Linked DNA regions of Homo sapiens: region 2 is linked to region 1. The links are contacts of gene promoters, found by promoter capture Hi-C in human tissues and cell types (Jung and others, 2019). All regions are on one chromosome and are shown on one strand. Each heading gives the region's core, a stretch centred on a gene start or on the middle of the fragment in contact. The rest is flanking DNA. Distances are from core to core; before and after follow the strand shown. Region 1 holds the start of TRIM71 (tripartite motif containing 71). Region 2 has its middle 14 kb from the start of CNOT10.

The links. Contacts are between HindIII fragments. The study calls those that stand out against the background at their distance.
Region 2: a fragment that was not itself captured here is called in contact with the fragment with the promoter of TRIM71 in region 1 in 1 of the 25 tissues and cell types used here (adrenal gland).

The regions. Positions count from the first base shown.
Region 1 is chr3:32,813,937-32,820,237 of GRCh38, reverse strand. It overlaps TRIM71 (tripartite motif containing 71), which reads right to left and starts at 2,241. Exons shown (of 4, transcript NM_001039111.3): 1 at 1,306-2,241. The coding sequence starts at 2,157. RefSeq lists an enhancer at 1,200-1,781. The HindIII fragment of the contact is 18,479 bases long and covers 1-6,301 here.
Region 2 is chr3:32,667,919-32,674,219 of GRCh38, reverse strand. No RefSeq gene overlaps it. Among named protein-coding and RNA genes, the nearest start is that of CNOT10, 14 kb to the left of the region's middle. The HindIII fragment of the contact is 4,468 bases long and covers 348-4,815 here.

The DNA.
Region 1 (6,301 bases), core at 992-3,491:
CGCTGGGCTCACCTTTGCGGTGCTCGGTACCCACTCTCCAGCTCACACAGGCCACGACCCCCACTATGGCTTTTAAAGCCTCTGCAGTCTCCAGCTTACGCTCTAAGTCAAGACTTTCACCCACACCCTCTCTTACCGGTCTACAGGTAGATCGCCTAAGTTACCGACCCCCTCGGCAAGAGCCCGCTTCTCAAGACTTTTGGCCTGCCTTCATTGGGTTCGGGGGAGAAGACGACACTCGCATAATACCAAAGTGGAAAGGAGAAAGGGGTCACACTGTGTGAAAAGCAAATGTTTACTCGACAGCCCAAAGGGCGAAATCGAGCCCGAGGGTTGCAATGTAGCCCTAAAAGCCTTTGCACTCCGGCGTTCCAGCAGCGTACGGCTGCCTTGGTCTTTTCCAAGGAAGTCGAGACCCTGGTTGAGCCGGGTGGATACCTCCTAACCAGGGAAACCGGTTCCTGTAGGGCTTGGAGTCGGGGCAGGCGGGCGCGGCCCAAGAGACTCAGGCTGGTGAAGGTAACGTCGTCCCTTTATTCCGCTTCTATCTCGGGGTGCAGCCGTGGGCCCACGAACGGCGATTTCACGCTAGGAGAATTCAGGGGCCAGAACACGCATTTTAAACAATATAGGAAGCAGCCGCAGAGAGAGAAGGGCTTAAGACTGGGGGCCCTTGGCCCTCAAAGATCCACAGACGCTCCCACTCTTACCCAACATAAGGAGGCAAGGACTGCCATGCTGTCCCAACAACAAAAAAACCAGTCTTCCCCTCACAAGTGCGCACGTGGAAACCAGGTCTACGGAGGCACACAAACTCCACGCACTCACCCACACAACCATCTCTTCCGGGCTCACGCCCCATTTTAAAGGCAACAATCTATGAGTTTTCCAAACAAAAATCTGAAAATAAAGGAGCGCCTTCTCAGCACGTTGGGAGGCCTCTGGTGTGCCCACAAGAGCAGGAGCAGGCCACGTCTACACAAACACACACACCTATCTCCTCCCAACTCACGCCTAACTCAAGACGATTGCCGCGTTTTGCCACACAGAAATTAAAATCAGAAAAGGGAGGACCCCACGCTATGGGATTTTTCGGAGCCCCTCGCGACACGTACACAGAATCCACTTCCACATACTTCCCAGGTCATGATCTACTTTGGTAGCAAGGACTGCCACGTAGCCAAAGGAAATACAAACCAAATCCGGAGAGGGCCTCCTCCCCTCGCTGTGGGACCGGCCGGGAAACGCTGTTGAGCACACACGCAGTTATCCGATGGACACAAACACACGCCCCCACGCACTCACCTCGTCGTCGTGGTGCTGGCAGAAGCCGAGGCGCTCGGGAAACACTGAGAGGATGGAGAAGGGCGGGCCGGGAAAGGGCGGCCCGAGCCCGAGCTGCTGCGCCGCTGCTGCGGCACCGGGACCCGGCGGGCCGCGCTCGATGTAGTGGTCCTTGGTGAGGCGCACGCGCTGGTGCGCTCGGACGCAGTTGTCGCACAGGTGCTCCTGGCAGTCGAGGCAGCGCGAAGAAGCTGCGTTGCCCTCATCGCACGAGCTGCAGCCGTGAGGACGGCGGAGCAGCAGCGCCGACGGGGAAGCGGCAGGGCCGCCGGGTGCCGAGCGGGAAGGCGCGGGCGGCTGCGGCGCCTGCGGGAGTGGCGGCGCGGAGGCGGACGCGCGCGGGTGCGCGTGGTGAGCGTGGTGCCGGTGGTTGCTGTGGCCGCCCGCTCCCGCCGGAGCGCCGGCGCGCCCGTTCTTGGGCGGCGGCTCGTCGGCAGTGGCCACCACCGCGTCGAGCAGGTTGCTAAGCAGGAAGGCGGACGAAGGCAGCGCGTCCATACCCGCCGCCTCGGCTAGCACTACTTTCTGGTCGCACACGGGGCAGCGCAGCTTGAGCGGCTCTCCCGCCGCGCCGCCGCCCGCCGCCGGCAGCCGGTGCGCCTCGAGGCAGGGGCGGCAGAAGGCGTGCAGGCAGGGCAGGACGTGTAGGCGGCGCGCCGCCGCCCCAGGGCCCCCGCCGCCGCCCCCCGACGACGTGGACGTCTGCGAGGAGGACGACGACGCGGACGAGTTGGAGGAGAGCGGCGCCGGCGAGCCGCACATCTCCTTGCACAGCAAGCAGATCTGGAAATCGGTCTCGGGGAACGAAGCCATTTGCAACCCAGCCCGGAGGAGGGAGGAGACCAGAGAGGAAGAGGAGGAGGAGGAGGAGAGAGCGGACGAGGTGGGTGGGGGAGTCACCGACTCACTCAGAAAAATGCATCGATTAGGCCTGCAATCCGGGAGCCGGCACCAGAGCAGCGCTGCCCGCTTGGCCTCGCCACGTCCGGCCCGAGCGCTGCCACCCCCGACACTGCAGGCATTAAATGCCACTATCCAGCGGCGACACAGATTCCTCCGGATAACTTGGGGGCCGCGTGCCTTCCGAAGAGGGAACGCCGGAACAAGCCCCGACAGGCGAGGGGCGAGCGGGGGCAGGGAGGTCGGAAGACTCCCTGGAGCAGCTGAGGCTTCCCTTCGCGATAGACGAAAGGAGTTCCCAAAAGGAGAGTTCGCTGTGCAGTCCCAGTCCCGGCGAGAGCAGAATTTGGTTCCACGAGTATTTGGTGCGTTGCTTTTCTTTAAACGGATTTAGTCTGTTCTTGGGAGGGGAAGGAGCCCCAAACTAGTAAAGGCGGGAGCGGTGCGTCGCCAAGCCGGTGTCTCCCCGCGCGACGTCGGCTGCCCCGCCGCATGACGCGGCGGCCAGGGGCTCCTGGGTGGCCCGGCGTGCTGCGCTTGGGGCTTGCGCACAGCCAGGCACGGCCTCCCCTGCAGGGCGGTGGGCCCCGCAGCAGCTGCAGCTCGTGGTGGCCCAGCCGCGGCCGCACGCGTGCAGTACGCACGCGCGTCCCACGCGCCTCGAGTCTTCCGCGCGCCTGCCCAGCCGGGCCGCGGCTGCCCGCGCTTAACACGCACGCGCGCCCCACGCGGCCCGGAGCCCTCGTGCCCCCGCCTCGCCTGGCCTGGGCGCCTCACGCACGCTCCTTCCCCTTCGGCTTAGCGCGCGGGGCCGCAGGTCCCCGCGGGCCGCCCTGAATTATTCATCGGCAGGAAGATATTAGATGTACCCGCTCCGCGCGGGCCGTCGTGCAATGCTATCCGAGCTCCGCGCGCGCCCTGCGCCCCTCCTCCTCCTCACGTCCGTCCTCTCTGAAACCTTGGCAGAGAAGGGGGATCACATTTCCTTTGTCATCGGGCCATTTCGCCCTCGCCTTGGTCCCCCCTCCGATCCCGAGCCTCGGGGATGGAGGCTCCTCTCGGGCGCGCTGGAATCAGTGGAACCGGCAACAGCCCCGCGCGGCGAGCTCGGGAGCCGCGTGGCCAACGCCGCCGGCTCGCGCCCGCGTCATCTTCTTTCTGAAAGGAGTCGCCGATCCGGACGCGGGTGGCCTCGGCCGCGCTGCGCCTACCGAGCTTTGCTCCCGCCGTGCCCCGGCCTCCTGGGGCTTTGCACAACTCCCCCAGTTCGGGTTGCGTGCGCGCGCGCGCGCCCCCTCTTTCTCTGCTTTGCCGCCTCTGCCTCCTCCTCCTCCTCCTCTTCTCTTCAGTACGCCGGTTATTGGGACTGATCGGAATTCGGAATCCTTTTAATCTCCAAAGGAGCAAACTCACTTCCGCCCGAGTGCTGGGAGGGGGCTGGGGGAGGGGAGGCAGGGGAGGGGGCTCCAGGCAAACAGGAAACATTAGCCCTCTCAGCACGGCCCGCTTTTGTGTGCTCCCTCCCTCCGCCCTCCAACCTCCTCCCTTCTCCCGGCCGCTGGGGAGATGAACGCCCCCGGGCTTCAGTGTGACGACCTTTGAAACCTTCTGAGCGAGGAGCAGAGAACGACTCTTCCGTTTATTTAAAAAAGAAAAGAAAAGATTTCATTCTGAATCCCTGGCTCAACCGAGACATATCCACTGCCCGGGAGATCTCGGTTTTTACCCACCTTTTCTTTTTTTCTTTTTACGTTTTTTAAAGAACTCTGCATATCTGATCACCAAAACATCACACGGTGGTGTGCAGTTGGATGCATGGAATTAAGCGAGTCTGAATTCTGATCGGCAGAGGGGCCAGAGTTCCCTTTTGAGTTTTAATGGGGCTGGGGGGAAGCAGGGGGCAGCTGTTCTGGGGAGGCGACCTGGTGATGGCCCCGCAGCCATCTGGGTGGTGCCCGAGGCCGCCTGAGCGGTTCTGGGAGAGGAACTTGCATGGCCCTGGAGAGAGACTCACTTGGAAGGGCAAGGAGGGCCACTTACCAGGATATAGGTAGTATCTGGCCTGGAGGCCAACGGGGTAAAAATTGTCCCCTTCTTAACACTATCTCGCTGTTAGTGATATCCTATTTAACCTGGTACAGGCAACAACCTGATGACTCAAAAACATCGTGTTGGGAGAGAGAAGCCAAACACAAAAGAGTTCATACTGTGTGATTCCATTTCCAGGAAATTCTAGAACAGAGAACTAAGCTATGGGGAGAGGAAAAGTACCCTTGGGGATGAGGAGGTATTGACTGGGAAAGGGCATGAAGGAACCTTCTGGGGTGGTGAAATAAAAATAGATTGCCGTGTATGTACATTTGTCAAAACTTATAAATGCCATTTAAGATCTATGCACGATTTCACTGTTTAAATTATACTTCGATAAGCAATTTAAAAAAACACCTCGGTGTCCAACCTGCATAACTATGCCTGGATCATAAAGATGGAGAAATTTAAAAATACACTACATGGACCTCCCCAGCTCCTCTGGTTTTGCTCATTGGAATCCATGGGAAAATCACCCTGGAAAAAGCCCTTAAATCAACCCAGCTGGACACATGTGCTGATGGCCCTAGGAAGCTGCAGAAGTACCTCTCCAAAAGGATGAAGCCGTCTTGGGGGCCAGGGTGCTGTCCTGAGATGGGAGCGTTTCCTAGGCTGAGGAAGAGCCTGGCAGCCCCACCGGGAATGCCTAAGCCCTCAGCTGCCCCCAGAGCTCCCTCCTTAGCACCTGGAGCAAAATGAACATCAGTGAACATTTTCTGAAATGTGTGAGGAGTGAAAAATTATTGATCAAATAAGACCAAAACAGAGCCCCTCCTTTGCCAAACGAAGAAGCAAACTTTGTATAATTTAAAAATTAAAGAGGAAGCTTCTCATGCCACCATCTCTTGCCTAAACAATGTATTTCTTCCATAATTTGAGACCTGTGTAGAAACATGAAATGCTCATATGAATCAATGCACTCCTATAATTTTTTACCATAATTTTCTACCATACTGGCCTTGCCATAGAGATGTTTCATGTAATTTTGTTTTGTTTCGTTTCTTTTCCTTTCTTTGATTGTTTTTCCTTCTTTTTTAAAAAACAAAAACAAGAGGAAAACAGATGGGGGAAGAGAATTGCCAGAAGGAAGATGGCCCCAGAGGGTCAGAAGAGGGATGGCCCAGACCTGCTGTCTCCCTCTTAGTTTGGCCCCACCCACCACCAAAAAAAGAAAGAAAGAAAAAGAAAAGAAAGATGACAAGGAAAAAAAACCTCAATCGTCCTCCTGGTCCTAAGACTCAACATGTATTTTGAAAACGAGTAGCAGAGGTGGTACTTCAGCTGAGCCATCACGGAGGAGCAGGAAGGCTGTAACTCCAGAAAGAGGAATCAAACTTGACAGCGGTTTGTGGGTTTGTTTCCTGGGGACCATTGCTCAGAGGAAAAAAAAAAAAAGGAAGAAAAGAGAGAGCGAGAAGTGGGGGTGAGGTTTGATTTCTCATCGTGAAGTAGCTTTCCTTCTTTCTTTTCTTGAATTGACAGCACATTGCCAGGAAGCAGGCCTGTAGTGTAAATTGTTAAATTAGCACATTCCTAATTTTGGTTAAGACAATTTTTTAGCACTGGTAGCAAAGGGGGAAATCTTTAAGTCAACCAATTTAACCCCACTTATATAAGAAATACAGCTTATAGCTATAATGATTTTTTTTAATATGGCATAGCGACGGTTAGTATTTGAATCTAATAAGGCTTTATACAGCTTATCCATGAGGAGCCAGAGCTACACATCCAGATGAGGAGCCAAAGACACAGTCCACTGCTATAAACTACGTTGTATTAAATTTTTCATTGCCATCCTAGCTAATAAACACCCTTTGTTAGCAAAGGAGGAGGACGCAGGCTTCCAGTTTTTCCTCCACTCATTTACATTTGAAAGGGAGTCTATATGCCTTCAAGAATCCTGAAAATAAATCATCTTGTATTTTAATAATTAACTAAAAAGAAACTAAAGGTACAAAAAACTAGCCGT
Region 2 (6,301 bases), core at 1,332-3,831, 150 kb after region 1:
TTTGTTTGTTGTTTGTTTTCTAGAGTGAATCACACTTTCTTGTTTCTTTGTATGTTCTATAATTGTTTTTGTCAGTAACATTTTAGTAATACTGAGATGTTAAGCCAGCTGGGCTTCCGGGTTGAGTGGGGACTTGGAGAACTTTTCTGTCTAGCTAAAGGATTGTAAATGCACCAATCAGCACTCTGGGTCTAGCTAAAGGTTTGTAAATGCACCAATCAGCACTCTGTCAAAGCGGACCAATCAGCACTCTGTAAAATGGACCAATCAGCTCTCTGTAAAGTGGACCAATCAGCAGGATGTGGGTGGGGCCAAATAAGGGAATAAAAGCAGGCCACCTGCACAGGGGCTGCAACCCCCTGGGGTCACTGTGGATGGTTTGTTTTTCTGCTTTTCCTAATAAATCTTGCTGCTGTTTGCTCTTAGGGTCCGCACTACCTTTATGAGCTGTAGCACTCAGCATGAAGGTCTGCAGCTTTACTGTTGAAGCTAGCGAGACCACAAACCCAGTGGGAGAAACCAACCATTCTGGACCTGCCACCTTTGAGAGCTGTAACAGGGTGAAGGTCTGCAGTTTCACTCCTTAAGTCAGTGAGACCATGAACTCACCTGGAGGAAGGAACGACTCCCGACGTGCCACCTTTAAAGAGCTGTAATACTCACAGCGAAGGTCTGCAGCTTCACTCCTGAAGTTAGCGAGACCACGAACCCACCAGAAGGAGGAAACTCCCGACACATCCGAACATCTGAAGGAACAAGCTCTGAACACACTGTCTTTAAGAACTGTAACACTCACCGAGAGGGTCCGCAGCTTCATTTTTGAAGTCAGCGAGACCAAGAACCCACCGGCAGGAACCATTTCCGGACACAATACATTGTAGTAACTCTGTATACTGTCCCCTTCCTCTGTTTATTTGGTGGCTGGCTAGATTATTTTAGTATAGTCTGTTCTCCCTGCTTCCCCTCACTATGTCAAGCTCCTCACTGTGTCCAGCTCCTCAGGGGAAAAGACTGCTGCTCCTGAAGGGAAAAAGCTGAGTGTCCACTGTCACGCCAGGTTGACAGCGGTTTTAGCTAATTTCTTAGTTCCATTCTCTTATTTTGGGAGTTCAGATATGTTCTCTTACTAAAACATAAGACAATACTTTTAAAAACTGAAAAAATATGAAATAACTATTGGCTTTAATATTGACATTCTGTATTCAATATTTTTACACCAAATTCTCTACTGACATTTGTAGATGCACACCTTTTTTTTTAGGACGGATTCTCGCTCTGTCGCCCAGGCTGGAGTGCAGTGGCACAATCTTGGCTCACTGCAACCTCCGCTTCCCGGGTTCAAGCGATTCTCCTGCCTCAGCCTCCCGAGTAGCTGGGCTTATGGGCGCCTGCCACCATGCCCAAATAATTTTTGTATTTTTTTGGTAGAGACGGGGCGTCACTATGTTGTTGGCCAGGCTGGTCTCAAAACTCCTGACCACGTGATCTGCCCGCCTCAGCCTTCCAAAGTGCTGAGATTACAAGCGTCAGCCACTGCCCCTGGCCACCTTAAAAAAAAAAGAATTATTTTTGGCTGTATGTGGTGATTCATGCCTGTAATCCCAGCACTTTGGAAGGCCGAGGCAGGTGGATCACTGGAGGTCAGGAGTTGGAGACCAGCCTGGCCAACATGGTGAAACCCCATCTCTACTTAAAATACGAAAAAAAAAAAAAAATTAGCTGGGCTTGGTGGTGTGTGCCTGTAGTCTCAGCTACACAGGAAGCTGAGGTGGGAGAGTTGCTTGAATCCAGGTGGTGGAGGTTACAGTGAGCCGAGATTATGCCACTGCACTCCAGCCTAGGCGACAGAGTGACCCTGTCTCAGAAAAACAAAACCAAAAAACCTTTTATTTTTATCTAATTTCAGACTTAGAAAAAAGTTCCGAGAATTCCCATATACCTTTCAATCAGCTTCATCTAATGCTACCTTCTTATATAACCATAGTACAGTCATTAAAACCAGGAAATTAATCTTGGTATAACACAGGCATACATTGTTTTATTGTACTTTGCTTTATTGTGCTTTGCAAATAGTTTTTTTTTTTTTTAAATAAGTTGAAAGTTTGTGGCATCCCTGCATCACACAAGTCTATCAGCACCATTTTTCCAATAGCATGTACTCACTTTTTGTCACGGTGTCACGTTTTGGTAATTCTCACAATACTTCAAACCTTAGCATTATTGTTATATCTGTTATGGTGATCTGTATTTAGTGATGTTTGATGTTACTATGTAATTGTTTTGGGGTGCCATGGACTGTGCCCACATAGGACAGCAAAGTTATTGATCAATACGTGTGTTCTGACTGCGTCATGGATTGGCCATTCCCCTATATCAGGGTTCCCCAACACCTGGGTCACAGACTAGTACCAGTCCATGGCCTGTTAGGAACCGGGCTGCACAGCAGGAGGTAAGAGGCAGGTGAGCCAGCAAAGCTTCATCTGTATCGTATTTATAGCCACTCCCCATTGCTCACATTACTTCCCGAGCTCCGCCTCCTGTCAGATCAGCAGCGGCATTAGATTTTCGTAGGTGTGTGAACCCTGTTGTGAACTGCACATGTGAGGGATCTAGGTTGTGTGCTCCTTACGAGAATCTAATGCCTGATGATCTGTCACTGTCTTTCATCACTCCCAGATGGGACTACCTAGCTGCAGGAAAGCAAGTTCAGGGCTCCCACTATGGTATGTTATGGTGAGTTGTAAAAATATTTCATTACGTATTACAATGTAATAATAGAAATAATGTGCACAATAAATGTAATGTGCTTGAATCATCCCGGAACTACTTCCCCATCCCCCAGTCCATGGAAAAATTATCTCCATGAAACTGGTCCCTGGTGCCAAAAAGGTGGGGACTGCTGCTCTCTCTCCCTCTTTTTGGACCTTCCTATCCCCTGAGACACAGCAATATTGAAATTAGGCCAATTAATAACCCTGCAATGGCCTCTGAGTGCTCAAGTGAAAGGAAGAGTCCCACATCTCTCACTTTAAACCAAAAGCTAGAACTTTCATACAATTTTGAACACAAGTAGTGAGAATGATTAAGCTTAGTGAGGAAGGCTTGTTGAAGGCCAAGACAGCCTGAAAGCCAGGCGTCTTGCTCCCAGCAGTTAGCCAAGTTGTGATTGCAAAAGAAAAGTTCTTGAAAGAAATTAAAAGTAGTACTCCAGGCCAAGCATGGTGGCACATACCTGTAATCTCAGTGCTTTGGGAGGCCAAGGCAGGAGGATAACTTAGCCCAGGAGTTCAAGACTAGCTTGGGCACATAATGAGATCTTATCTCTACAAAAAATAGAAAATAAAAATTAGCCAGATGTGGTGGCATGAGCCTGTAGTCCCAGGTACTTAGGATTGAGTACAGCCTGTAGTCCTGTACTCAGATACAGGCATGAGCCTGTAGTCCCAGGTACTGAGGCAGGAGGATCGCTTGAGCCCAGAAGTTTGAGGTTGCAGTTAGCTATGATCACACCACTGCACATCAGCCCGGGCAACAGAATGAGATTCTGTCTCAAAAAATAATAGCAAATAAATAAATAAAAGTGCTACTTCAGTGAACACACAAATGCTAAAAAAGCAAAATAGCTTTATTGCTGATACGTAGGAAGTTTGAGTGGTCTGGGTAGATCAAACCGGTCACAATATTCCCTTAAGCCAAAGCCTAATCAAGAGCAAGGCTCTAACTGTCTTCAATTCTATGAAGACTAAGAAAGGTGAGGAAGCTTCAGGAAAGAGTTTGAAGCTAGCACTGGTGGATTCATGAGGTAAAGGAAAGAAGTCATCTCCATAACATAAAAGTGCAAGGTGAAGCAGCATGTACTTTTGTAGAAGCTGCAGCAAGTTACCCAGATCTAAGATCATTGGTGAAGATGGCTACACTAAACAACAAATATCCAATGTAGATGAAGCAGTTTTATATTGGAACAAGATGCCATCTAGGACTTTTATAGCTAGAGAGGAGAAGTCAATGTCTGGCTTCGAAGCTTCAAAGGACAGGTTGACTCTCTTGTTAGGGGTTGATGCAGCTGGTGACCTTAAGTTGAAGCCAATGGTCATTTACCATTCTGAAAATCCTAAGCCCCTTAAGAATTGTGTTAAATCTACTGTGTCTGTACTTTACAAATGGAACAACAAAGCCTAGATGACAGCATATCTGTTTACACATTTGGTTTACTGAATATTTTAAGCCCACTGTTGAGAACTGCTGCTCAGACAAAAGATTGTTTTCAAAATATTAGTGCTCATTGACAATGCACCTTGTCACCCAAGAGCTCGGATAGACATGTACAAGGAGATGAATGTTGTTTTCATACCTGCTAACACAACATTCAGACAGCCCATGGATCAGGGAGTAATTTCAACTTTCAAGTCTTATTATTTAAAGAATACATTTTGTAAGGCTATAGCTGCCATAAATAGTGATTCCCCTGATGGATTCGGGGAAAGTAAATTGAAACCCTTTGGAAAAGATTCACCATTCTAGATGCCATTAAAGAACATTCATGATTCATGGAAGGAGGTCAGAATATCAGGATTCATAGGAGTTTGGGAGAAGTTGATTCCAACCCTCATGGAAGACATTGAGGAGTTCAAGACTTCAGTGAGAAGTCACTGCAGATGTGGTAGAAAATAGCAAGATAACTAGAATTAGAAGTAAAGCCTGAACATGTGACTGAATTGCTGCAACCTCATGATAAAACTTGAATAGATAGGAGATGTTTCTTACGGAAGAGTAAAGAAAGAGGTTTCTTGGCCAGGCGTGGTGGCTCACACCTGTAACACCAGCACTTTGGGAGGCCAAGGTGGGCAGGTCACTTGATGTCAGTAGTTCGAGACCAGCCTGGCCAAAATGGCGAAAACCTATCTCTACTAAAAATACAAAAATTAGCCCAGCGTGGTGGTGGGCGCCTGTAATCCCAGCTACTCAGGAGGCTGAGGCAGGAGAATCACCTGAACCCAGGAGGTGGGGGTTGCAGTGAGCTGAGATTGCGCCACTGCACTCCAGCCTGGGTGACAGAGCAAAACTCGGTCTTGAGAAAGGAAAAAAAAAAACGTGGTTTCTTGAGACAAAGTCTACTCCTGGTGAAGATGCTGTGAACATTGTTTGTTTTGTTTTGAGATGGAGTCTTGCTCTGTTGACCAAGCTGGAGTGCAGTGGTGTGATCTCAACTCACTGCAACCTCCACCTCCCAGGTTCAAGCGATTCTCTTGCCTCAGCCTCCTGAGTAGCTGGGATTACAGGCACATGCCACCATGCCCGGCTAATTTTTGTATTTTTTGTAGAGACAGGGTTTCACAGTGTTGCCCAGGCTGGTCTTGAACTCCTGAGCTCAAGCAATCTGATTGCCTCAGCTTCTGCAAAGTGCTGGGATTACAGATATGAGCCACTGTAACCCGGCCAGTGATCACTGTTGAAATGACAACAAATAATTTAGAATATTACATACATTTAGTTAATAAAGAAGTGGCATATTTGAAAGAAGTTCTACTGTGGGGTGAAATGCTATCAAACAGCATCGCATGCTGCAGAGAAATCTTTCATGAAAGGAAGAGCCCATTGGTGTGACAAGCTTCATTGTTGTCTTACCTTAAAAATTGCCACAGGCATTCCAACCCTCAGTAACAACCACCCTGATCAGTAAGCAGCCATCCACATGGAGGCAAGACCCTCTAACAGCAAAAAAATTACAAATGTGTTGAAGGCTCAAATGATTATTAGCATTTTTTAGCAATAAAGTATTTTTATTTTTCTTGAGACAAGGTTTCGCTGGTCACCCAGGCTGGAGTGCAGTGGCATGCTCACTCCTGCACTCTTAACAGACTTAAGCTATAGTATAAACATAATTTTTATATGCACTGGGGGACCAAAAAATTTATGTGGTTTGGTTTATTGCAATACTTTATTGCAGTGATCTGGAACCAAACCTGCAATATCTCCAAGGTGTGCCTGTACTATTATTTAAAGCGTAGAACTTATCCAAATTTCAGCAGTGTTTCCAATGATGCCCTTTTTCTGTTCCAGGATTTCACATTCACATAGCATTTAGTTATTATTTCTCTTTAGTCTTTTTGTTTTGTTTTGTTTTGTTTTGTTTTGTTTGAGACAGTGCCTTACTCTGTAGCCTAAGCTGGAGTGTACTGGCATGATCGTGACTTACTGCTGCCTCTAACCCCAGACTCAAGGGATCCTCTCACCTTAGCCTCCTGAAGAAAAAAAAGAGGTGAGTGTGGTGGTGTGTACTTATAGTCCTCCCAAGTAGCTA